7 separate regions of the Homo sapiens genome follow, and regions 1, 2, 3, 4, 6 and 7 are each linked to region 5. Evidence: promoter capture Hi-C in 16 types of primary human blood cells and fetal thymus (Javierre and others, 2016). All regions are on one chromosome and are shown on one strand. The core of a region is centred on a gene start or on the middle of the fragment in contact, and the rest is flanking DNA. Distances in the headings are between cores, read along the strand shown.

Region 1 (3,139 bases), core at 204-2,703, 780 kb before region 5:
TGGAAGCTTCCAGTCCTGTGCACCGGCAATATGTGTCATGGAAATTAGAGAATGCTAAGTAACAAACAGATGACATCTGTTGCACACTTTTGGCCTGCTTTTATTTACATTATCTTATTTCATAGTATAGGAAGAGCCTGGAGACACCTTTCCTTGTGCTCAAGGGAAACGAGGAAGAAATGGACTCATTCTAGTCTTTATAGCCCCATTTTAGAACTCTGGAAATTATCTGTGTGTTAATTTCCAGATCTCTAAAATGGGATTATAATGTATATAAGAAATACACATTATTTTTGGCCAGAAGTGGTGGCTCACGCCTGTAATCCCAACACTTTGGGAGGCTGAGGCAGGCAGATCATGAGATCAGGAGTTTGAGACCAGCCTGGCCAACATGTTGAAACCCTGTCTCTACTAAAAATACAAAAATTAGCTGGGCATGGTGGCATGTGCCTGTAATCCTAGCTACTTGGGAGGCTGAGGCACGAGAATCACTTGAACCTGGGAGGCGGAGGTTGCAGTGAGCCAAGATCGCACTACTGCACCCCAGGCTGGGTGACAAAGTGAGACTCTATCTCAAAACAAACAAACAAAAAAAACCAAAATATACATTATTTCTGCAAGTTGGCAGAGTTGACTCATGGCACAATGGCCCTAAGATGAAGGAAGCTTCCTCCTACAGCCTGTAGAATAAATACTCATTGCATCTCCCAGCATCTGCTGGTCAGCACAGGAGAAAGGAAGGAGCTCTGGCCTTAGGAGCCTTGAGGTTGCAGCCCCATCTTCTCCACACACCACTCTGAGCCCCTAATTCTCTTCTCTGATGACACCTCACCAGCCTTTGAGGCAACTTGTAAGAAGTGAGGGATGTGAAACTGCTTAGCACACTGTGACGCTCTGTGCAAGTCATTGTGGAGACAGGTTTATGCCTTCACAGCTGTGCAATGCCGATGTCCCTGCCTCTCCTGCAGATCCCCATGAGGTTGCCCTGAATCCCATTCATCCAGATCCAGGGGAAAATCTAGTGCTGCCCCAAGATTCCTGCAAATATCTGCAGACTCTTCTGGCACCAGGTTTCTCCCCTGCTGAGTGACCTCATTGTGAGCCATCTTCCTGTCTCCTCTGTACTGCATCCATTTGATTTCTATGAAAACCAATAATCCAAAATACCTCAATAATGAAACCCTAGAGCAAACCAGCTAACAAGTGAAAGTTTCTTCCCAAGGGGTCTTTGTTTTCCCCAAGCTATTGGAGGTTTCTGATATTAGGTGGGTGGATACTGAAGCAAAACACAGAGAGACTAAAACCAGAGATTGGGCATCCCTGTCCTCACAGTCCCTGGGCCTTGTCTGCCTGCATTACCATGCCTCCACCCCTTCTCTCTCTTCCTTGCTTTCTTTCCAGTCACTGTCCTCCCCTTGGCAAATCCAGACCCTCACAGGGCCCCTTCTTCCCTAATGCTGTGTCAATCCGTCTTCCCAGCTGTGGGAACATGCTGAGGCCTTTGGAAGGGGCTGGGAGGGAGGGGGTCCTGCTGACTCTGGAAATGCCGCTCCTAATCCAGCGTGCTCTATCTTTGGTGTGTCACAGGGGCCGGACGGGTTGCCTGGGCTGCCAGGATTTCCAGTAAGTACCACCCTCGCTGTCTTCTATCTGTGCCCCGTGGCTGCGATCATTCTGTTCCTTCCACCTAGAATGGCATTTCCTCCATCTATGCATGACTGAGCTCCAGGGGCATCTTGTTCATTAACTTTTTCTTGATATTTTTGATAGATATGGGGTTTTGCCATGTTGCCCAGGCTGGTCTGGAACTCCTGAGCTCAAGAAATCCATCTGCGTCAGCCTCCCAAAGTGCTGGGATTACAAGCATGAGCCCCTGAGCCTGGCTGATTTTCTGAACTTTTTACATTTTCTAAAGGCACATATCATATGATAACACTAAAAATAGTGCTAACTAGACGTTAAAAAACAAAAGAGAGAATGGCAACCATGACCACGATTGTGACCATGACTCTGACCATGATTCTTGGTTAGCAGAAGAAAAGGCCAAACCCCTAAGCTCCAGCCCCGGCTTGGCTGCTCCAAGACCTGGGGCACATTTCAGAGCACACTTTCCTCTAAATGAGTGGTCCTGTGTTCCTGAGGGAGTCCCAGGCTCTGCAGGAGAGCCTCCAGGACCTCCACTGCAGGGAGTAAGGAGGGGGCCAAATAGGCACATTCCAGGCCACTGACCTTCAATAAGGGAAGCTTCACTGGACATATTTGTATATATTAGGCTTTCATTTAAGACTTTATTTGGGGGAAAAAAAAGGAAGGAAAAGAGTTTCACTGCTAAACAATAATAACAAATAGTTGAAAGCCACTGCTGTAATGGGTAATTCACTCTTTCATCCAGACAAGACAGGAACTTGTGAAAAGTTAAAATAGCAATAAAGTGTTGAAATGCCTTTTTGAGGCAGATGTGGCTGTGTGAGTCATTGTCACAGGCATTCAGTGTCTGTTGGAGTTGAGAAGAGGTTGCCTCTGGCTGCATGTGTGGATTTGGCTCTGCAGAGGGGTGGGTGGGCATTCCTATGGGGGGGGTGGCATGAGTGCTGGTGCAGAAGCAATGGAGGAGTGCAGAGAGGCTGCGGGAAGGGAGTCAACCTGATGGTGTGGGAGATGAGATGTTGATGCCTGGCTGGGATGGGCTGGGGTGCCAGGCTAAGGTACCTGGGTCCCATCTCATAGGTAGTGGGGAGCCAGAGAAGGGGTGGGAGTCGTGGAAGGGGATAGTGGAGGAGGCGGGCTGCAGGGTGGCCTGGAGGAGCCGTGGGGCAAGCAGATGCAGCAGGCCCAGATAATAGGCTGGATCAGTAGTGCCCAGTTGGAGGAAACCAATGTTCAAAAAAGTGTGAAGCCTCAAGGCCTCTTAACACTCAGTGCTATCTTCTTTCTGCCAGACCACAGTTTCTGGACCACTTAAGGTTAAGAAAATGTCATAGGTAATCATGACTTCCACCTACCTGGGGGATGGCAGTGTGTATTCTACTGTTGAGAAAAAATATATTTCTGATTGGTTTATGCATTTTAATCTTAACGAACAACCAAATACTATATAACAATTCCTTCCAGGGTCCTAGAGGACCAAAAGGTGACACTG
Region 2 (3,173 bases), core at 443-2,942, 720 kb before region 5:
AACAGTCACTTTCTGAGATCATTCATTCATTCATACAATAAAAATCTCATTAGCTCTTATCTTATGAAAGACATTGCAAATAGAGCAGCAAAAAGGCAGTCTAGGGACCTCAGGTGGCACAAAGTCCACCAAATCTCCATTGAAGAAACTGGAACTGAGAGGGCAAATTGGGACTGGAGCCTGCCAGAAGCCATCTCTCTGGAATCCCTCAGCCTGAGCAAGAGGGGAGTTTGCTGCTGAGGCTGCTGGAGCTGCGGTGTAGAGCAAGTTGCAGGCCTCTGAGCCTGTTGGAGGTTCAGAAAGGTTAGCTGACTTGCTTAAGTAAGTGTCCTAGACAGGAGGGAGAAAGCGCGCGGGTCTCAGATCCCAGCTCCAATATCCACGCCTTTTCCCTTTTCATCTCCCGGAAGGAAGCCTTCACAGGTGGGGAAAATGCTCACCCAGTGACTCTAAAGTAGTGCACAAATTGGCATTAATCAGAACCATTCTGATTCCTGCTATCAAGGTTTATTTAATTCTAAGCTCAAATGACACAGAAAATAAAATTTCCTCCTTAAAAGGTTCTGCGGAAAAATATTCTCTGTTCTACGTAACAGCCTCCTTGGCTGTGTTTGTGTCTGAAGAAAGGACTAGTCTGACAGGAAGAATTACAAATCTGGAGCTCATTTTGGCGTCGCAGAGGGAAGGTGGGTGGAGCGTCTCGCAGTAAATTAGGAATTCAGAATGAAAACGTAGAGTTTATTTGGGTTTTTAGTGACACCTCAGGATTATTATACAGCAGTGTCAGACACAGCTCAAAGTAATGATGACTGCTCCCCCTCCGCCCCGCGGGAGCTGGGTGCTAAGAAGGGGGAACCCCTCCTTTGAGGGGTTGGGGTGGGGATCCTCCCTTTCCAACCTGGATCGGGAAGGGGTTTGAGAGGAGTGCGGCTTGGATCCCCATCCTGGATCTGTGCTGGAGGGAGGCGGGAGGCTATTTGGGGGTGTGTTTGGGCTCAGGATCTGGGTCTGACGCTGGGATCTGAGGACTTTCTGGGTTTGGAACTGGGTGGGGGAGCTGGGTTTGGGGTGACCGCTGGGAGCAGGAGGAAATAGGAGAGTGAGTCGCATGTGAAGGGCACTGAGGAGGGATCTTCGGGGGAATGCTGAAGTTGATGCGTGGACTTGGAGAGGGGAAGTTGAAGTGGATGCAGGGGCCTGGCGCTGCAGCGGATCTGGGTGGCATGTGCTGGGATTGCCAATGCGGAGCTGTGAATGGGGTCAGGGTGGGGCTGAGGCAGTACCAGATCTTCCGCGCCTAGAGGAGGTTAGAAGAAAAGAGCGTCGAACGGCCACAGCCTTTTTCCGAAAGAGACTCACACAGACACACCCATCGCTCTACCCGGCCCTCCGGGGCTAGCGGCTGAGCGGTGCTGGGGCTGGCAGACCCCGCCCCCACGCGGCCTCTCGGAGCCGGGAGCCGATCGGGCCGGGGCTGGGGTCTGGCGGCCCAGCCCCCGGGGAGCGTGGGGCGTGGCCAGAAACCGGCGCTCGCGGCTGCGGATTGGCTGCCTGGCGGGCCCGCAGGCGGGGCTCCCGGCTGGGTCCCGCTTGGCAGCTCGCGGCGGCGGGGAGGCGGGGCCGGCGGGAGCCCGGCAGCCAATGGACGCGCGTCCTCCGAGCAGTTACAAAGGGCCGGAGCGAGGCCGCCGCGGCGGCTAGGGAGGTGGGGCGAGGCGAGGTTTGCTGGGGTGAGGCAGCGGCGCGGCCGGGCCGGGCCGGGCCACAGGCGGTGGCGGCGGGACCATGGAGGCGGCGGTCGCTGCTCCGCGTCCCCGGCTGCTCCTCCTCGTGCTGGCGGCGGCGGCGGCGGCGGCGGCGGCGCTGCTCCCGGGGGCGACGGGTGAGCGGCGGCGCGGCGGGCGGGCGACTGCGGGGCGCGCGGGCCGGACCCGGCCTCTGGCTCGCTCCTGCTCTTTCTCAAACATGGCGCGGGGCCGGGGGCGCAGGTGGCGGCGCCGGGGCCCGGGCCGGGCTCTCGTGGCGCCGCGCGGCTCGGCGGCTGCCGGGCGAACCGCAAGCGGGGAGCGGAGGCGGGGCAGGGGCGTGTGTCCGGGCGCGGGCGGACGTGTCCGGCTGCCCGAGGCCGCCCCGCTCGGGACTCCCCGGGGAGGTGGAGTCGGGCGGAGTCGTCCGAGGTCCGGGGCTGCCCTCTGGGGTGTGAGTGGGCGAGGGCCAGGGGCGGAGAGTGCGAGGCCGGCGGGGACTGGCAGAGCCGTGGCTGCCCGCCGCCGCCCCCTGGGCACGGCGTGACCTTGTTCTGGGGACCCCCGCCCCAAGAGGGTCCGTGCCAGAGGCTGCCGAACCCGGGGCGGGGTTTGAGGTTGGGGTGGAAGGCGGCTCCCGGGCGGGGTGTGAGCTCCGAGCCTCTAGGGCTTCGTCCAGTGGGAGTCGGGGGCGACGTGTGGTGAGACCCCTGGGTCCGCAGGCCGCCCTGACTCCCGCCCGGCTCGACCCGAGCCGACCCTGCTGGAAGGGGCTGCTCCTCCAGCCAGGGGGGCTTTGTGTGAGAAGAAGGAAGCGCGGAGATGCGCGGAATGTTTCTTCTTTCGTGCGTCTGGGGAGTGTTGAAGTGAGTCCAGTAACCAGACGGCTACGGATTGTTTTCATAGTGGAAACTTGAACGTTTGCTCATTCTGCGGGTTTTGGAAATTTTGGGAACGACTGTGAATTGATTAAACGCTTTTTATTTCCTCGAAGGAACATCACTCACGTTGTTCCTTTTCTTGAGTGACAGTTAATAGTTTGATTCAGACATCTGTATAGCTGGTTTTCAAGGAAGACTGTTGGCTGGATTTTTCAAAATAGTAAATCAGGTTGGGGTAGGTGGTTGGTATCCACAAAGGGATGAGTGAAAAACTTCGTTAGCAGCTGAACTGAGACACTAGAAGCTAAAATACACAGCCTCAGTGTTAGCAACTAAAATGCAGTGAAAGTACATTTCTGTTTCTGAAACTGGACAAAAGATGTTGAAATTTTTTTAAAAAATCAAGACTGACGGTGACGATTATAATCAGTCCTAATAGCTACCGTCTATGTATTGTGCATTACTACGATGTAAATGCATACACTATTGTATAATTACATTATTTAATCACCACAAGTAAACTCCCAGGAGTAGTGGCATTTGCCCC
Region 3 (3,149 bases), core at 323-2,822, 620 kb after region 5:
CAATCCACTTCACCTTTCTGACCCTTTCTTCTCTCAGCTGGAAAGAGACTTGAGGAATGTAAAGAGGGACACTGGACTCAGTCTCTTAAGTGCCTAGGCCCTTTCACATCTGAAATTACATACATTGTTTACTTAGGATTTTAAAAAACAGCCCGCATACCTGAAGGATCACAGACTCCAACCCCTCATTTTAAAGATGAAAAAACTGAGGTTGCCATTGCTCCAGGTACATGCCACAGAGTGATGAAAACGTCAAATTTTTTTTTTTTTTTTTTTGAGACAGTGTCTCCTTTGTCATCCAGGCTGGAGTGCGGTGGTGCAAACATGGCTCACTGTAGCCTCGACCTCCTGGGCTCAAGCAGTCCTCCTACCTCAGCCTCCCAAGTAGCTGGGATTACAGGTGCATGCCACCACACCTGGCTATTTTTTTTTCTTCTTTTTCTTCCCTTTTTTTTTTTTTTTTTTTTTTTTTTTAGAGACAGGGTTTTGCCTTGTTGCCCATGCTAGTCTCGAACTCCTGGGCTCAAGCAATTTACCTACCTCAGCCTCCCAAAGTGCTGGGATTACAGGTGTGAGCCACTGTGCCCGGCTGTACATCTTTTTTTTTTTTTTTTTTTTTTGAGATGGAGTCTCACTCTGTCACCCAGGCTGGATTGCAGTGGCACGATCTTGGCTCACTGCAACCTCCACCTCCCGGGTTCAAGTAGTTCTCCTGCCTCAGCCTCCTGACTAGCTGGGATTACAGGCGCACGCCACCACGCCCAGCTAATTTTTGTATTTTTAGTAGAGATGGGGTTTCACCATGCTGGTCAGGCTGGTCTGGAACTCCTGACCTCGTGGTCCGCCTGCCTCAGCCTCCCACATCATATTTTATATTTGAGTACACGGTGGCTTCTTTTGTCCTCAGCTGTGACAAAAGTTTTGGAAAGCTGTTTAGTTCTAAAACTGGCTAACATGATTTGGGGGAATAATCAGTTCCCTAATATTAAAGAAAAATCAATTAACAAATCAGAGTCTAGGCCGGGCGTGGTGGCTCACGCCTGTAATCCCAGCACTTTGGGAGGCCGAGGCAGGCAGATCACTTGAGGTCAGTAGTTCGAGACCAGCCTGCCCAACATGGTGAAACCCTGTCTCTACCAAAACTACAAAAAAAAAATTAGCCGGGCGTGGTGACAGGCACCTGTAATCCCAGCTACTCAGGAGGCTGAGGCAGGAGAATTGCCTGAACCCGGGAGGTGGAGGTTGCAGTGAGCTCAGGTCGTGCCACTGCACTCCAGCCTGGGTGACAAGAGCGAGACTCCGTTTCAAAAAAAAAATGTTCAACTTTTCTTTTTTTGCTGTTATATACCAGATAGTCACAGTATAGCCACAACAATCCACTTTGAAATAAAACCCCATTCCTAGTACATTTCTAAATATTCTCCAGAGTCCTGAATATCATAATTCAACCTTAATGGAAAAGAAAGTACTGTATTTCAGACAAGGGAATCAAGTCAGGAATTAAGCTTCAGTGATTTATAGGCATTGTTTTTGCTGGAGTTGGTAATCATTGCTTCAAACTTCCTTTTACAGGATAGCTAGCGGCCAGGAGAAATACAGTGGAAAATGCAAAACAACGAAATTATAAAGCCTGCCAAATACTTCTCAGAATTGGAAAAGAGCATCCTGCTGGCTTTAGTAGAAAAGTATAAATATGTGCTGGAATGTAAGAAAAGTGATGCGCGAACTATTGCCCTTAAGCAGCGTACCTGGCAGGCGCTGGCCCACGAATACAACTCTCAGCCCAGCGTGTCCCTGCGGGATTTCAAACAGCTGAAGAAGTGCTGGGAGAACATCAAGGCTCGGACCAAAAAAATTATGGCCCATGAAAGGAGAGAGAAAGTGAAACGGAGCGTCAGCCCTCTCCTGAGTACCCACGTCCTAGGGAAGGAGAAGATCGCCAGCATGCTGCCGGAGCAGCTCTACTTCCTGCAGAGCCCCCCGGAGGAGGAGCCCGAATACCACCCCGACGCCTCAGCCCAAGGTATCCGTTCCTGATGCCAGTGTGCACGCTCTCACTGGGTATCTGTTTGACATTTTAATTTTAAAACCCTCCACTTTGAGGGAACTTCTAAAAATGAAACTTTTGTATCAAATCCAATTTTCCTAATTCAAGATCTCAGGATTATATAGGACATTCAAAGTCTTATAGAAGTGGGCGTGGTGGCTCGTGCCTGTAATCCCAGCACTTTGGGATGCTGAGGCGGGAGGATGGCTTGAGCTCAGGAATTTGAGACCACCCTGGGCAACAAAGTGAGACCCCTGTTTCTACAAAAAATAGAAAAAATTAGCTGGGCATGGTAGCATGCACCTGTAGTTCCAGCTACTCGGGAGGCTGAGGCTGGAGGATAACTTGAGCCCAGGAGGTGGAAGCTGCAGTGAGCTGTTATTGCGCCACTGCACTCCAGCCTGGGTGACGGAGTGAGACCCTGTCTCAAAAAAAAAAAAAAAAAAAAAGTAATATATAAAAACAAAAGTACTTGTTTACATCATTGTGCTAGCTCTCTTGGAGACTTTATTATTACTTAAACATAAAGAAAAATAAGGGACTGGATTAATGGAGTTCTTATTAGTGAGGTGCTGCAGTTGCCTATCAGCCTGTCTCAAATATGTTAAAGAGAATTGTATGAAGATTTGTATTCATCCACTCAATTTCACTTTTTTCAAAAAATATTTTTGGAGGTCCTTATTATTTGCAAAGCATTGCAGTAGGCCACTCAAAAGGCCATATTAAAAGAGTCAACCGGCTGGGTTCTGTGGCTCATGCCTGTAATCCCAGCACTTTGGGAGGCTGAGGTGGGCGGATCACCCGAGGTTGGGAGTTTGAGACCAGCCTGACCAACATGGAGAAACCCCGTCTCTACTAAAAATACAAAATTAGCCGGGCGTGGTGGTGCATGCCTGTAATCCCAGCTACTTGGGAGGCTGAGGCAGGAGAATCGCTTGAATTCGGGAGGCAGAGGTTGTGGTGAGCCAAGATAGCACCACTGCACGCCAGCGTAGGCAACAAGAGCAAAACTCCATCTCAAAAAAAAAAAAAAGAACTATTTCAAACTTTAAAAAAAGTGCAAAGAATAATATGATAAACGCCTGTTTTAGCATTCACCCAG
Region 4 (3,377 bases), core at 860-3,359, 700 kb before region 5:
GGGGTGGAAATCACTGTAGATTATCAAGTAATCCTTTTTTTCTTTGTGTACTTTTGGAATAAATCTAGATTATGTTGATGTAACTGTTAGGACATTTCTGTTTCTTCATCTCTAAAGGAGCTGGGATCTGATATTTCTGTTCATATTCCTTCCAGCATGAACATTTTATGGCTAATTAGATATTAACTTATTTATTAGGGATATTACATATACACACTGGGTGTGTCCCTACACTGTTAATTTGGGTTGGAACTGAAAATATACTTTCTGTGTGTGCCTACTGCTACTGTAGTGAAGTTCTTGAGCCAGGTCTGTTCAGTCATATTGTTGAAAAACTGTATGAATATTTATGAAGGAGAAAGAGCTGATAGGTACCATGAACATTCACTGTTGTATATGCATATGGTTTATATTGTGTTCTGTGTCAGTATTGCCTACCAGAGCTGTCTCAACATTAGCTCTGATTCTCTGTCTAGCATCTAGACCAGAGACTGGCACGTAATAGGAGCTCCAAAGAAATACTTGTTGAAAAAGTGCATAAACTAATTTTTGAACATTTTATTATGTGCTGGGCACTGTGCTAAGTATTCTATGTATGTTATTTCATTAACCCTCAAACCTTCTGAGATTGGTACTGTTTGTTAGTATGTTATAAATTTAGGAAGTAAGTTGAAGAAATTTAGGTTCAAATAAGTTAAGTGACTTCCTCAGGATTACTCAGTGCCTGACTGGCAAAGATAGGATTTTAACTTAAGTTTTTCTGTCTCTGAGTTCCATCAACTTAACTACCATATCCTTATAATACCTACCCACTAGTCAAATTAAAATCTAATAAGAAACTGTGTAAAAGCATACTTAGATTGAGAGGAAATAAGAAATTTGGTTATTGTTTTAGCACTCACCTTTAGACATAGAAGTTTCTCCATTTCTTTTCAGGGCCTGGGGTAAGGCAAAGTGTGCACATCTGCTCTGTATATTAAAATATCCCCTCAACTCATTGAAGTGGAACAAAAACAAGGTCACTTGACAGGACTGTAATTGTAATCACACTATACAGCTTTACTTCCTGCCCTTTAGTAGTAGGACCATTCCCTTGTCCTTAAACATGCTTCTAAAATACCAGTTTTAATGGCTATATAGTCTTTCATTTATGATTGTATAAGGATTCATTCTGTCATTGTATTGTCATTCACATAGGTTGTTTTCAATCATAAAATACTGTAATGAACATCTGCAAGTTTAGATTTTTGCTCTCACCTATTGTTTCCTCAGACAACTGTAAGTAGTAGAATTGATGGATTAAAAGATACTTTTTAAAGGCTCTGACTCTTCTAAAATGTGTTGTTAAACTCCTCAGATCTGCTAACCAGATCTTTATGCTGTACTTGTGTGATTTATTTCGAATCTAAGTGAAAGCCTTTGTATTAGTTACCCTGTTAAATCCCATCTTGCCATTTGGGCAGCCTATTCTTAGTGTGTTTTCTCTGATATCAGTTAACATTATATTGGCTAATTCCATAGAAACTAGGAGACTGGAAAATGAAGATAATGTGGAAAAACAAGAGCTTGTGAATTTGGGAGTGCCCTGTTCTTTTAAGATGTGATGTGGGTTAAATGATAAACAATGCATCTTAAATTCTTTAAAAGTGGCAGAAGTAAATGGAATTTATCTGGAAAAAAATCAGGCGTTTATTCTGATGCCCTAAATTCAGGGGTGAAATATTATCTGGACTAGAGGAAAATTTTATGTACATTATATGGTGTTCTCTATTTTGACAAGCTTACTTTGATATTACTGCTGCAAGGTAGCCCCAGGAGGGTTGAATTGAGAAGAACTGAGTATTTTGAGGAACAAAACCTAGGATAGTAGGCTGGAGGGAATTGGAGGTCAGGGTTTTAGCCATGTATACAGAGATAAGCAACATATTTAATAAAAAGAAAAGGAGAATCTATATAGTATGCTTTACTCCAAAGCTGGATGAGGGAGAAAAGAGGACACGTCTCCTTGAGAAGGGGGCATGTGTTGAGAATGGAGAAAAGGGGTAAGGCAGATTACTCAGAAGAACTGGGGTAGAAGAATAGGTTGGATGATAAAAGGGGCTGACATTAGTCCCTGAAAGTTTTTTTTAAATAACTTCCAACTTTTGCCTTCACCTTTGCCAGCAGTGATGTGATCTGCTTTCAGCTGTAGTGAAGCAAACTGCATAAAGGACATTGTGCATGTTAGGTCTTTTACTTGCCTGTTGGTACATGTTTGTAATATTTGGAAATACTCTCACTGCGAAGAAAAGTATAGTTGTGCTGTAGTGGGTAGGGTGAGGAAAATAAGGGTCATCACCAGCAAAGTCAGAGTGATGAAAAAACTGGATTACAACACTCTGCTTGACTTTGCATAGATAAGTAAGCCAAGCAGAGTGTTTCCTGGATGTAGTTAAAATACAAGCTTGGAGCACAGGTAAAAGGCCAAGAGGCTTGGAGATGTACATCTGAGATGTACCAAAGGGCCAAGTGCAAAGTAAGTTTGGGAAGTTTAGTGTCATATAAAAACTAATAAAGAAAGGGTGGTACTCTGTCTCATATCCTGAAACGTTTTGAAAAGAATATTGAATTTGACCAGAAGGGCATTGCTAGTGAATTTCAAAGAGAGATTTCAGTTGAGCTCTGAACTGGAGGAAGATGGGTGATAGAAGGCTGGAGAGGGCCAGTAACAAGGGTTGAAAAAGGAAAGAGTATTCAAGCGTATGCATAAAAAGACTACGGGTAGGTTGTGTAGATGATGACACACTAAGCCTGGGAAGACAAGGTTTCGGTGCTAATTTTTATTTCTTTAACAAGGGTGATAGAAATATCTGTTCCATATATTAATACTATACACAACTGTTTACCTCTCAGCTTTTCTAGCAAGACATATGGGCTTGTGAATTAACCCTGGGTAGCCCTGGCATTAGATAGAATTAATAGTGCTTCCATATGTGACCTCGAGACGTACTGAAATGAGGCAACCAAGGAAATCCTTTATATTGGGACCAAGAGCCAAGATCTCAACTTGGGATATGTTACCCCGAGAGTTGTTACCCCGATACTATAATACCATGAATAATAACCCCAAGGGTCCTGTTGTCTCTTTTTCCTCATGTCACTTCCTTTGGTACTAACTGTCACCATGCTAACATCTGCAAACTTTGAAAATTCTGATTTATTCTGCAATATTTGGAAATTTCACTGCTAGTAATTGTATTTCCTGGCATGGTTCTGATATAATTTTCTGTGTACACAGTAGCTTTTCCTTTTAGTGCTGAATCACACTGAAATCCTTGTTTAACCTAAGTTATAGTTGCAAGGGAGCTATCAAGACAAATAATTACAGTGATGGTGAA
Region 5 (3,216 bases), core at 612-3,111:
CGCGCGCTCCCCGCCCCGCCCCGCCCCGCCCCGCGCGCCCTGCCCCGCCCCGCGCGGCGTTGAATGGAGAAGGGGCGGGGGTGACCGAGGGGAACCTACTCCGCTATCTGCGGCGCGCGCCGGCGGCGGGTCCCGGCCAACCGCCGAATTTAGTAACATCGCCTGCGTCAATCACGCGCCTCGCGTGCGTCAGCGCCGCGCGGCTCCAGGTCCTGCTCCCCCCCTTCAAGCCTTTGAATGGATACAATGTAGCAGCGCCCTCCTTCCTTCCGAGGCTGGATTGGAACCCGCCGCAGTGCAGAGACTCGGTTGCTCTCGGCTGGGTCAACTTTCGGGGCATTCTCCCACGATCCTCTCCGCACCACCGTGTCTGAATTGGAAGTGGAGGCGAAGAAAGATATACATGCCATATTTACCTATATGTAGTTTGTTTTCAAGTTTCTGGTCCTAGCTCGAACCTTCTTCGATTCTGAAATGTGTGCTGTCTACAAAGGAATCTTGTATCTCCCCTCGGCGCAGCGCCCCCCGCCCCCGCCACACACACACAAATTGGGACAGGTCAAACATATAAAACGGTATTTGTGATTCAAGCGGACCACATGGGGACCACTCTATCTGCATTGTTTCACTCAAATATTTTCTCCTGTCCAAAAATTCATTTCTGAAAGAGACTGCGTTCACTCAGCAGCAACCTTTGGGACTAGGGGTCTTTAACTCTGATAAATTTTGTTTTCATCAAGAAATTTACACTTAAATTTATCATTTCCAGGAAGAAATTGCTCTCCTTCATACAGTCACCCAGGCTTTCGGCACACCATTTCATGACAAATGTGTCCGAGGAGACCAAAGCAAATCCCCTAGCGAGGGACTGACTAATAAGTCCTGTTGATTGATTTCGAAATGTTTAATTTGGGAGATGTGGGCGGAGGGCATCTACAACCATCAAAAAGTGAAAGTGCTAGTTGAGAGTTCCATTTCTGACCCGGTGCCGGGGAGGAGGAATGATTTGCAATAGTCAGACCCGCTCAGCTGTTCAACACGTGTGTGTTTGTTTTACACACAGAGTAGTTTCTGCTGCAGCGCGCGTGTGCATGATGGATGTGCACTTCGCTGGGTTATAACGTGTCCAGTTAAGAAACCCACGCCGTACGTGTAAAGAAATCAAACCTTATCCCCGGAACCATCTGCATCCCTGTGTGAAACACGCACCCAGTAAATGATGCGGGGAGGGGGGATTAGCCTGGGCGCAGAGGACCGGAGCAACGTAAACAGCTTTAGAACCTATGCAAGAGGAAAGTGCAGCTGCACCTCAGGGCGTCTTCGGGCTGGTGCCAGACGCCTTCTGCACCGGCTGCCAGGTCACTGGAGCTGGTCAGAAGCTGGCTGGCGGAGCCTTCCCTTTCGGAAGAGCTGTCCTCTCCCTTACCCCCCTCGCCCTGGCTCCGTGCCTCGGGGCAGCCTCGGAGGCGCGCCAGCAGCACTCCTCCAACTCTACTCCACCCGAGCCTGACAGCTGGGCGGTCCCGCCTGACCCGTGGGCAGGCCGCTGCACCCTCCCGCAGACGCACGCCCTGGCGAGCGGTTCCGCTGCAAAAAGAGAAGCCCCCAGGCCGGGGCCGGCCGTGCGGCGGAGTTTCCATTGTGCGGCCGTGCGACTGGCCGAGGAACGCGCGCGCGCGCGCGCGCACACGAACACACACACCCTCCCTCGCACACGCGGAACCGGCTGGGCCAGGGGAGGGAGGAGGAGGGTGACGTAGCGTCCCATGGCGTCACATTGACGTCTCGCATTCCAGGCACTCTATGGAGAGGCCGCTAGGGCTCCTGTGGCATAAATGACGTGCCGAGAGAGCGAGCGAACGCGCAGCCGGGAGAGCGGAGTCTCCTGCCTCCCGCCCCCCACCCCTCCAGCTCCTGCTCCTCCTCCGCTCCCCATACACAGACGCGCTCACACCCGCTCCCTCACTCGCACACACAGACACAAGCGCGCACACAGGCTCCGCACACACACTTCGCTCTCCCGCGCGCTCACACCCCTCTTGCCCTGAGCCCTTGCCGGTGCAGCGCGGCGCCGCAGCTGGACGCCCCTCCCGGGCTCACTTTGCAACGCTGACGGTGCCGGCAGTGGCCGTGGAGGTGGGAACAGCGGCGGCATCCTCCCCCCTGGTCACAGCCCAAGCCAGGACGCCCGCGGAACCTCTCGGCTGTGCTCTCCCATGAGTCGGGATCGCAGCATCCCCCACCAGCCGCTCACCGCCTCCGGGAGCCGCTGGGCTTGTACACCGCAGCCCTTCCGGGACAGCAGCTGTGACTCCCCCCCAGTGCAGATTTCGGGACAGCTCTCTAGAAACTCGCTCTAAAGACGGAACCGCCACAGCACTCAAGTACGTATGAGATTCGCCCAGTTAATAAGGGGACTTGCTAAAAAAGTTGGCTTGCTGGGAAGCGTCGCTCCTGAAATTGACAACTTTGAGTGTGGGGTTCCCTCCCCTGACCTTGCCGCCCGGCTCCGGCTTTGCTAGCCCAGCGGCCCGTAGGTTCTGATCTGAAACTTTTCCCCTGTAGTGGGCCCGCGGGGATCTCTGGAGCTCGTGGGATTCCTCCCCCCACTCGAAGAGGCGAAAAGCCTCTAACAAAGAGGAGGACCGGGATTTGTGCTATAGCGGCTCCAGCGATGTAATTCAGGGTATTTCGGCTCTAGTTGTCATGGTAATGATGCTCTCGGCGGCGGCGGCGGCGGCGGCAGCGGCAGCGGCAGGGAGTTGCAGCTCCGGTGATGAACGGCAGTAATTTTCCTGCCTTTTAAGTAGGATTGAAAATAGGAGCTCTGGTGGGTCCAAGTAAATGTTGCTAATGGTGGCACCGAGCTGGTTCTCTGGAAGGAAGCTTAGGAGGGAAGGGCCTAGGCAGCGACGGCCAGAGTTTGCAGACGCACTCGGAGGACCTCAGGAAAGAGGGCGTAATTGTAGGAATGTGGCTTATTGTATTGAAATGAGCCTGGGGTTCCACTAGGCACGTCTGCCTGTCGTCGCTGACATGCCGGTTTACACTTTTCCCTTAGGAGGTAAATCGGGTGTAATTGGCGACTCCCGCACACTGACACGTGTGGGGACGGTGTCCCTCTCCTCTGGACGTTGGCTCGGTGTGGGAAAGGCATGCTTTTTCACGGACAGAACTCGCGCTTTTGGAGAAGTTGCTCCGAGTGTTTTACTCTTA
Region 6 (3,205 bases), core at 210-2,709, 660 kb before region 5:
CTAATAGAAGAAACAATAAAACCCATATTATTATAATAACTAAATAGCCAAAGGAAAGAATATTTGACAGAATTCAGCACCCATTCGTGATGAAAACTCAGCAAACTAGAAATAGAAGGCAACTTCCTCAACCTAGTGAAGGGCATCGATAAAAAACTCACAGCCAACATACTTGATGGTGAAAGAATACTTTTCTCCTTAAATCAGAAACAAGTCGAGAACATCCTTTCATCATTTCTATTCAATGTTGTCATGGAGGTTCTGTCCAGTCCCTGTTCCCTCTCCCTACAAAAAGACTAGAAAGACATTAGGTTGGGGAAAAAAGTAAAACTGTCTTTATTAAGAAATATTACCTGTCAGATTCTAAAGAATCCACCGGAAAAAATTTTTTTTTTGAAGCTACAAGACCTAATTCAGCAAGCAAGGTTGTAGGATACACAATCAATATTAAAAATTGACATTATATTAGCAATGAACGATACCTTCAAAAGTAAACTCAGAATAGCGTCAAAAAGAATATAATAATACATTTATTTAATTGAAAAAATATTGCCGAGAGAAATCAAAGGATCTAAATGAGAACTTCCATGCTCATGGATTAGAGAATTCAACAGTGTTATGATGGCAATTCTCCCCAAATTGTTCTATAGATTCAACTCAATCCCTAGCGATATTCCAGAAAGGTTTTTCTTTAAATTCACAAGCTGATCCTAAAACTTAACATGGAAATGCAAAATGTCTAAAAGATCCTAAATGATTTTGAAATGCACAAAATTGGAGGAATTGCCTTACCCAGTTTCAAAACTTACTGTAAAGCAACAATAATCAAGACTGTTTATTGACACAAGGATAGTCAGTCATATACAGCAACAGGACAGAATTAAGAGTCCAGAAATAAGCCCTCACAGACGACCAACGGACTTTCAAGATATGTGCAAAGATAATTCAACAGGAGAAAAGACAGTCATTTCAATAAATGGTGCTGAGACAATTGGATATCTGTATTTTAAAAGGAAGGAAAAAAGGAAGAAAGTTAATTAGACCCTCAGCTCATTATGCACCTAAAGGTAAGAGCTAAAGCTATACAACTTCTAGAAGAAAACAGGAGAAAATCTTTGTGATGTTAGGTTAGGCAAAGATTTTAATAGGACTTCAAAAGCAAAATTTATTAAAAACCAGTTGATAAATTGGACTTCACCACAATTAAAATATTTGGGGCTTTAAAAAACAAGAGAATGAAAAGATGAGCCAAAGACTGGCATAAAGTATTTGCAAATCATACATCTGATAAGAGATTTGTATTCAGAATATATAAAGAACTCTTACAATTCAATAAGAATACAAATGGCCCAATTAAAAATTGGTGAACAAATTCATTGCTCAGAGATTGGGTATGGTAGAGTTAATTCTAAATTCTGTATTTGGGTATTAATGTTTAAATGGTAATTCGGCAACAGTTGATAAAGTGAAGCTCTAAATACCATGAATTATGTGTAGGACTGTGACAAAAAAAGTAAAAATAAAAACTGGTCAAAAGATTTGACATTTTCCCAAGAAGATATATGAATGGCTAATAAACATAATTCTTTATAAAGACTAGATGAAATTAAAACCACAATGAGAAACCACTCCTCACACACTCAAATGATTATAGTTTTTAAAAAGACAGATAGCCAAGTGTCAATAAAGATGAGAAAAAGATGAATCTCACACATTGCTGGAATGTAAACAGTCCCTTTGGAAAACAGATTGCAGTATCTTAAGAGGTTAAATAGAAACCTATTATGTAACCCAGTAATATCATTTCTAGGTATCAGTAGAGGTGCCAGATAAAATACAGGAGGCTCAGTTAAATTTGTGTGTCAGATAAAAACAATTTTTTAGTATAAGTTTGTCCCACATATTGCATGGAACATGTTTATACTAAAAAAAAGTATTGTTTATCTGACATTTAAATTTAACTCGGCTTCCTGTATTTTAACTTGCTAAATCTGGCAACTCTAATCCAAGAAAAATTAAAACATATGTCCACACAAAGACCTGTAGGTGAATATTCACAGCAGCATAATTCCTAATAGTCAAAAATGGAAACAAGCTAAATGTCCATCATCTGGTGAATTGATATTTAAGAGGTAAGGTATTTATACCATGGTTTATAAGACTGCTTGATCCTTGTTATAATGTGGATGACCTCAAAACCCTCATGCTAAGTGAAGGAAGTGGGATGAAAAGGTTGCAGAAAGGCACAAGGGAGCTTTTTCGGATGATGGGAATTGAGGCAGGAGAATAGGGTCTGGAGGCAGGGAACCTAAGGCTCTTTCACCCTGACTTCCTAGAACTAAATTGAAAGGAAAACCCTAACTTTCCACGCCTAAGTAAAAAAAGGACCAGAGGCTGCAGATGGGAAATCTGTCTGCAACAAATCAGACTGAGTACCAGTGGAGTCTTCGTTTGCAACTTTGTGACTTAGCTCCAGCCTCTGAATGGTTGCCGTCCACAATCAACCAGACTGATTGCAGGCTTAGTCAGTCTTCATTTGCACAGAAGTATAACTTTGTAACTTCACCGTAGCCTCTGATTGGTTGCCTTTACCAATCAGATGTTTGCACAGGAGTGTGACCTTTGTAACTTCAGCCTCTGGTTGGCTGCTTTCTGCAACCAATCAGACTGATTGAGGGCTACCACTTCATTTACATGAAGTATGCATGAAGTGGCCAATGGGAAACTTCTGGGGGGTATTTGGACCAAAGAAGATTCTGTATTGGGGGCTCTTGAGTAGCTGCTCAGGCTGCTCCCACACTGTGGAGTGTACTTTTGTTTTCAATACATCCCTGCTTTCCTTCTTTTGTTGCTTCATTCTTTCTTTGCTTTGCTGGGCGTTTTGTTCAACTCTGTTCAAAACGCCAGGAATCTGGACAACTTGCAGTTACGACCTTCTACTGGTGACAGAATGTTTCAAAGCTTGATTTTGGTGATGGATTCAGAACTCCGTAAATTTACTAAACATTGTGCACATGAAATGGGGAAATTTTATGGTGTGTAAACTATATCTCAATACGTCTGTTAAAGGAAAAAAAAGTAAAACTCGCCTTTGCCAGTTTTTGTTGTTGTTGTTTGTTTTTTGTTTTTTCTTTAAACAGGGACTCTCTGTCACCCAGGCTGGAGAGCAGTGGTGCGATCACAGCTCCGGGCAACCTCGACTTTC
Region 7 (3,376 bases), core at 877-3,376, 680 kb before region 5:
AATATTTATTTATTCAAATATTAACAGTGTTTAACCTCAGTTGGTAATTATGGGTGATTTTTATTATTTTTCTTTTAGCTTCTCTGGGTTTTCAAATTTATTTACAAGCATGTACTGCTTTTTTTTGTTATTGACTTTTATTTGTAGAAAATTTCCAATATGTAGAAAAGCAGAGTAGTTACAGTGATCCCTCATCGTCCAGCTTCAACAGTTGTCAGGTCACTGCCAATCATAATTGATGTCTGATCCCACCTACTCTGCCCTAACTGTGTTATTTGAAGCTGGTCCCAGACAATATGTTTTCATCTGTAAACACTTATAAAATGTAATTTGTATCTTCAAATGATGAGGAAATGTTTTTATGAAACAACCACACTACCATTGTCAGTTTTTTAAATGTTATCAAATATCCAGTTAGGTTCAATTCTATAATTGTCTCCTATTAAAAAAATTATTTATTCAAATTATGATTCTAAGTCCACAAGTTATATTTAGTTGATATTTCTCTTATGTGTCTTAAAATTTAGGTCCCCCCTTCATCTTTTTTCTCCTCTCGCAGCTTATTTGTTGAAGAAATTGGATTGTTTATCCTGAAGGGCCTATCACATTCTGGATTTTGCTGATTGCATTTCCATAGTGTCTCTTAACTTGTTCTTCTATCTTTTCTGAAAACTGGTAGTTAGATTTAGAAGCTAAACCTAATTGGAGTTTTATTGGTTTTCTCAAAATACATACTAAGGATATTATATACATCCTATTGCATCATATGTGGAGGTGTATAGTGTTTGATTAAGACGGGGCAGTGAGGTATATGATGAATGTAGGTAGCGATTATCAGTGGCACCTGACAATGTAATACCTCTTAAGTTAAAAACAAAACAGGCCGGGCACAGTGGCTCACGCCTGTAATCCCAGCACTTTGGGAAGCCAAGGTGGGTGGATCACGAGGTCAAGAGTTCAAGACCAGCCTGGCTGGCCAAGATGATGAAACCCCATCTCTACTAAAAATACAAAAAAATTAGCCAGGCATGATGGCAGGTGCCTATAATCCCAGCTACTTGGGAAGCTAAGGCAGAGAATTGCTTGAACCTGGGAGGTGGAGGTTGCAGTCAGAGCTGAGATCGCACCACTGCACTCCAGCCTGGGCGACACAGGGAGACTCTGTCTCAAAAAAAAAACAACAACAAAACAAAACAAAACAAAAAATAGTAATCAGTCTGACCAAATCCTTAGTTCTCATTTTCGTTTCTGCCTTTATCACCATTTATTTCCTCCCCCAACTCTTAAAACAACCTTTTCTTTATTTACTGTGTTTGATGACCCTAGACTTTCCTTGTTCCTTCTTACTTCTTCATAGTTGTCTTTGTTTTCTCAACTCTTACTCTTCTCACTGGTTCATATGAAGGTACTGATTTTATAAGTGGTAATTTCTTCCTTAAGAACATAGCCACATTCATGGTTTCAAACTCTACCATGTTGGCAACTCTCAAATCTCCATTTGAAAGCTTAAACCTCACCCAGGGTCTGGATTTTGTCACATTCCAAGTTACAAACACAGCAGCACAAAATGTTGGTGAGTCTGTGCCCTGAACTTCTAACCAGGCTGATGCTGTCATCTGGTGGTCACCATGGGAACTAGCTGACCCTACTGGCTCTTCCCTACTCCCCTTCTTTCTTCTTTGTCAGGGGTTAATGTACTTTCTCTGAGCCTAGCCCCTCCACCTCAGTTCCTTTATCTTCTCCTGATTTAGTTAATTCCACCCCCGGCAGCCCTTTATATTTATGGCCCCTTACATATAACCTTCCTTCTATCTTGTCCATAACCTGTGGTTTCCCTTTCTTCCATCTGCCTGTCTTCCACTTTGTTTCTTGTATTTGTGAGCTTTTCAAAATTCAGTAATGGTTAAGAGGCATGCAAATAAGCTAGTGATGTGCCTATATCAAGGAAAAGCAAGGGTGCGAGTTTGGTCAGAATCAGTTTATAAAGTTCATGAAGAACAAATTAATACTAAGTCCTTTTAAATGTACCCAGAAATCTCCTCCAGAATCTTCTGAAAAGTTTCTATTCCTTTCTTAATCTCTTCTAATCAGAGTTGGTTTTCTTCTTCAACCAAATACCTTCAAAATAGAAGCTGTTTCATGTCAATATGGATTTTTTCTTTTGGTTTACAACCAGCAGGGAAAGAAAGAGCACAGTTTATGTACTTCTTACCTAAAGAATCTAGCATTCCGTTTTTTAAATCTTAACAGTCTTACAAAGTAAGACTTTATTCTTGTATAAAAGGAGAAACAGGCTCCTTGTCAGTAACAGGCAGGCCGTGGATTCCAACCAGGTTAGAATGACTCTAAGCGTCCATCTTTTACTGGATTGTGCTGTCTCCTAATGTTGTAATGCTTTTTTTCTTCATGGCTTAATTAAGCATGTGGTTTTCCAGCTACTTCTAGGTTAAATTAGATTGTCGTGGACCAGTCTAGCTTAGGAGCCTAGCTAGTGTCTTTACCATTATTCCTATGAGAAAACATGTTTTAAACTCGTGTTTTGGCTTACAGAGGAAATTTTGGAACCCACGTTCCTCGTTGTTTGAGTTTAGTCCCAGCTTTTCCAGTTTTGCTCCTGACATTTCAGTTCCTATTTCAGCTTCCCCATGTGTTAGAGGTATCACTATTTCTGTTTTTCTAAGCTAGCAACCTTGGAATCATAATCATCTTGTCTTGCGTCTTTGTGAACTGTGTACACAATCTGTCACTAAAGCTTGTCATTTCTTGTTGAAACTCACTTTCAGTTTTGTCCCATACTCTTCCATTCCCACTGTGGCCACACTGGTCTCCGGAGACTTCTCACCTCCTTGCTTCCCTCTCTGTTCCTTCCTTTTTTTTAACCTTCTCTCCTTCCAGGAACAGCCACTGAGCACCCAACCCGACCCAGAGATTTTTCTAGGCACTTAAGAGTGCCAGCTCTGATACCAATTATCTGTGAAGACTCAAAAAAGTCACCATCTTTGTCTCTTAAATGGGATTAATTATACTTGCCTTATCTCAAGAAGAGGGGCTTACTCTGAGGAACTAAAGGATGTGTACATAAAAGTATAAAACAAACAATGTAGAAGAAAATGTGAAGGAAATACAGACTTAAGGTGGCATTATATTGCAGTGTGTGACTCAGGATTGAGAGTAAAAAGTAATAACCATTGAACAAATAAATCATAAATGGTCTGCAGCCCAACCGAAATGTTAATTCTGTTTTACAGACAATGGTACTTGGACTCAGCTCTGGTTGGTGTCAGATTATCATGAGCATGGATCCCTTTTTGATTACTTAAACAGATACACAGTTACTGTGGAAGGAATGATAAAACTTGCTCTGTCCACGGCGAGC

Evidence for each region. Contacts are between HindIII fragments. The CHiCAGO score rates a contact against its expected background, and 5 or more counts as called.
Region 1: a fragment that was not itself captured here is called in contact with the fragment with the promoter of NR4A3 in region 5 in 1 of 17 cell types (monocytes); the score reaches 5.9 in monocytes.
Region 2: the fragment with the promoter of TGFBR1 here is called in contact with the fragment with the promoter of NR4A3 in region 5 in 3 of 17 cell types (fetal thymus, non-activated CD4 T cells and monocytes); the score reaches 7.9 in fetal thymus.
Region 3: a contact is called between the fragment with the promoter of MSANTD3-TMEFF1 here and the fragment with the promoter of NR4A3 in region 5, in 1 of 17 cell types (non-activated CD4 T cells). The highest score is 6.0, in non-activated CD4 T cells.
Region 4: a fragment that was not itself captured here is called in contact with the fragment with the promoter of NR4A3 in region 5 in 1 of 17 cell types (total CD4 T cells); the score reaches 5.4 in total CD4 T cells.
Region 6: a contact is called between a fragment that was not itself captured here and the fragment with the promoter of NR4A3 in region 5, in 1 of 17 cell types (naive B cells). The highest score is 7.6, in naive B cells.
Region 7: a fragment that was not itself captured here is called in contact with the fragment with the promoter of NR4A3 in region 5 in 1 of 17 cell types (fetal thymus); the score reaches 6.0 in fetal thymus.

The regions. Positions count from the first base shown.
Region 1 is chr9:99,038,934-99,042,072 of GRCh38, forward strand. It overlaps COL15A1 (collagen type XV alpha 1 chain), which reads left to right. Exons shown (of 42, transcript NM_001855.5): 23 at 1,588-1,623; 24 at 3,112-3,139. Among named protein-coding and RNA genes, the nearest start is that of TGFBR1, 65 kb to the right of the region's middle. The HindIII fragment of the contact is 1,578 bases long and covers 665-2,242 here.
Region 2 is chr9:99,103,421-99,106,593 of GRCh38, forward strand. It overlaps TGFBR1 (transforming growth factor beta receptor 1), which reads left to right and starts at 1,693. Exons shown (of 9, transcript NM_004612.4): 1 at 1,693-1,882. The coding sequence starts at 1,786. RefSeq lists silencers at 1,221-1,820, 1,911-2,420. The HindIII fragment of the contact is 12,693 bases long and covers 1-3,173 here.
Region 3 is chr9:100,440,334-100,443,482 of GRCh38, forward strand. It overlaps MSANTD3-TMEFF1 (MSANTD3-TMEFF1 readthrough), which reads left to right and starts at 1,573. Exons shown (of 10, transcript NM_001198812.1): 1 at 1,573-2,023. The coding sequence starts at 1,606. MSANTD3 (Myb/SANT DNA binding domain containing 3) reads left to right here. Exons shown (of 3, transcript NM_080655.3): 2 at 1,573-2,023. The coding sequence starts at 1,606. The HindIII fragment of the contact is 4,285 bases long and covers 1,504-3,149 here.
Region 4 is chr9:99,119,468-99,122,844 of GRCh38, forward strand. All of the region lies in intron 1 of TGFBR1 (transforming growth factor beta receptor 1), which reads left to right. Among named protein-coding and RNA genes, the nearest start is that of TGFBR1, 16 kb to the left of the region's middle. The HindIII fragment of the contact is 663 bases long and covers 1,779-2,441 here.
Region 5 is chr9:99,820,024-99,823,239 of GRCh38, forward strand. It overlaps NR4A3 (nuclear receptor subfamily 4 group A member 3), which reads left to right and starts at 1,862. Exons shown (of 8, transcript NM_006981.4): 1 at 1,862-2,384. RefSeq lists silencers at 1-74, 1,956-2,005 and enhancers at 1-177, 2,580-3,092. The HindIII fragment of the contact is 5,731 bases long and covers 1-2,884 here.
Region 6 is chr9:99,156,277-99,159,481 of GRCh38, forward strand. No RefSeq gene overlaps it. Among named protein-coding and RNA genes, the nearest start is that of TGFBR1, 53 kb to the left of the region's middle. The HindIII fragment of the contact is 3,000 bases long and covers 1-2,959 here.
Region 7 is chr9:99,139,288-99,142,663 of GRCh38, forward strand. It overlaps TGFBR1 (transforming growth factor beta receptor 1), which reads left to right. Exons shown (of 9, transcript NM_004612.4): 5 at 3,249-3,376. Among named protein-coding and RNA genes, the nearest start is that of TGFBR1, 36 kb to the left of the region's middle. The HindIII fragment of the contact is 1,247 bases long and covers 1,504-2,750 here.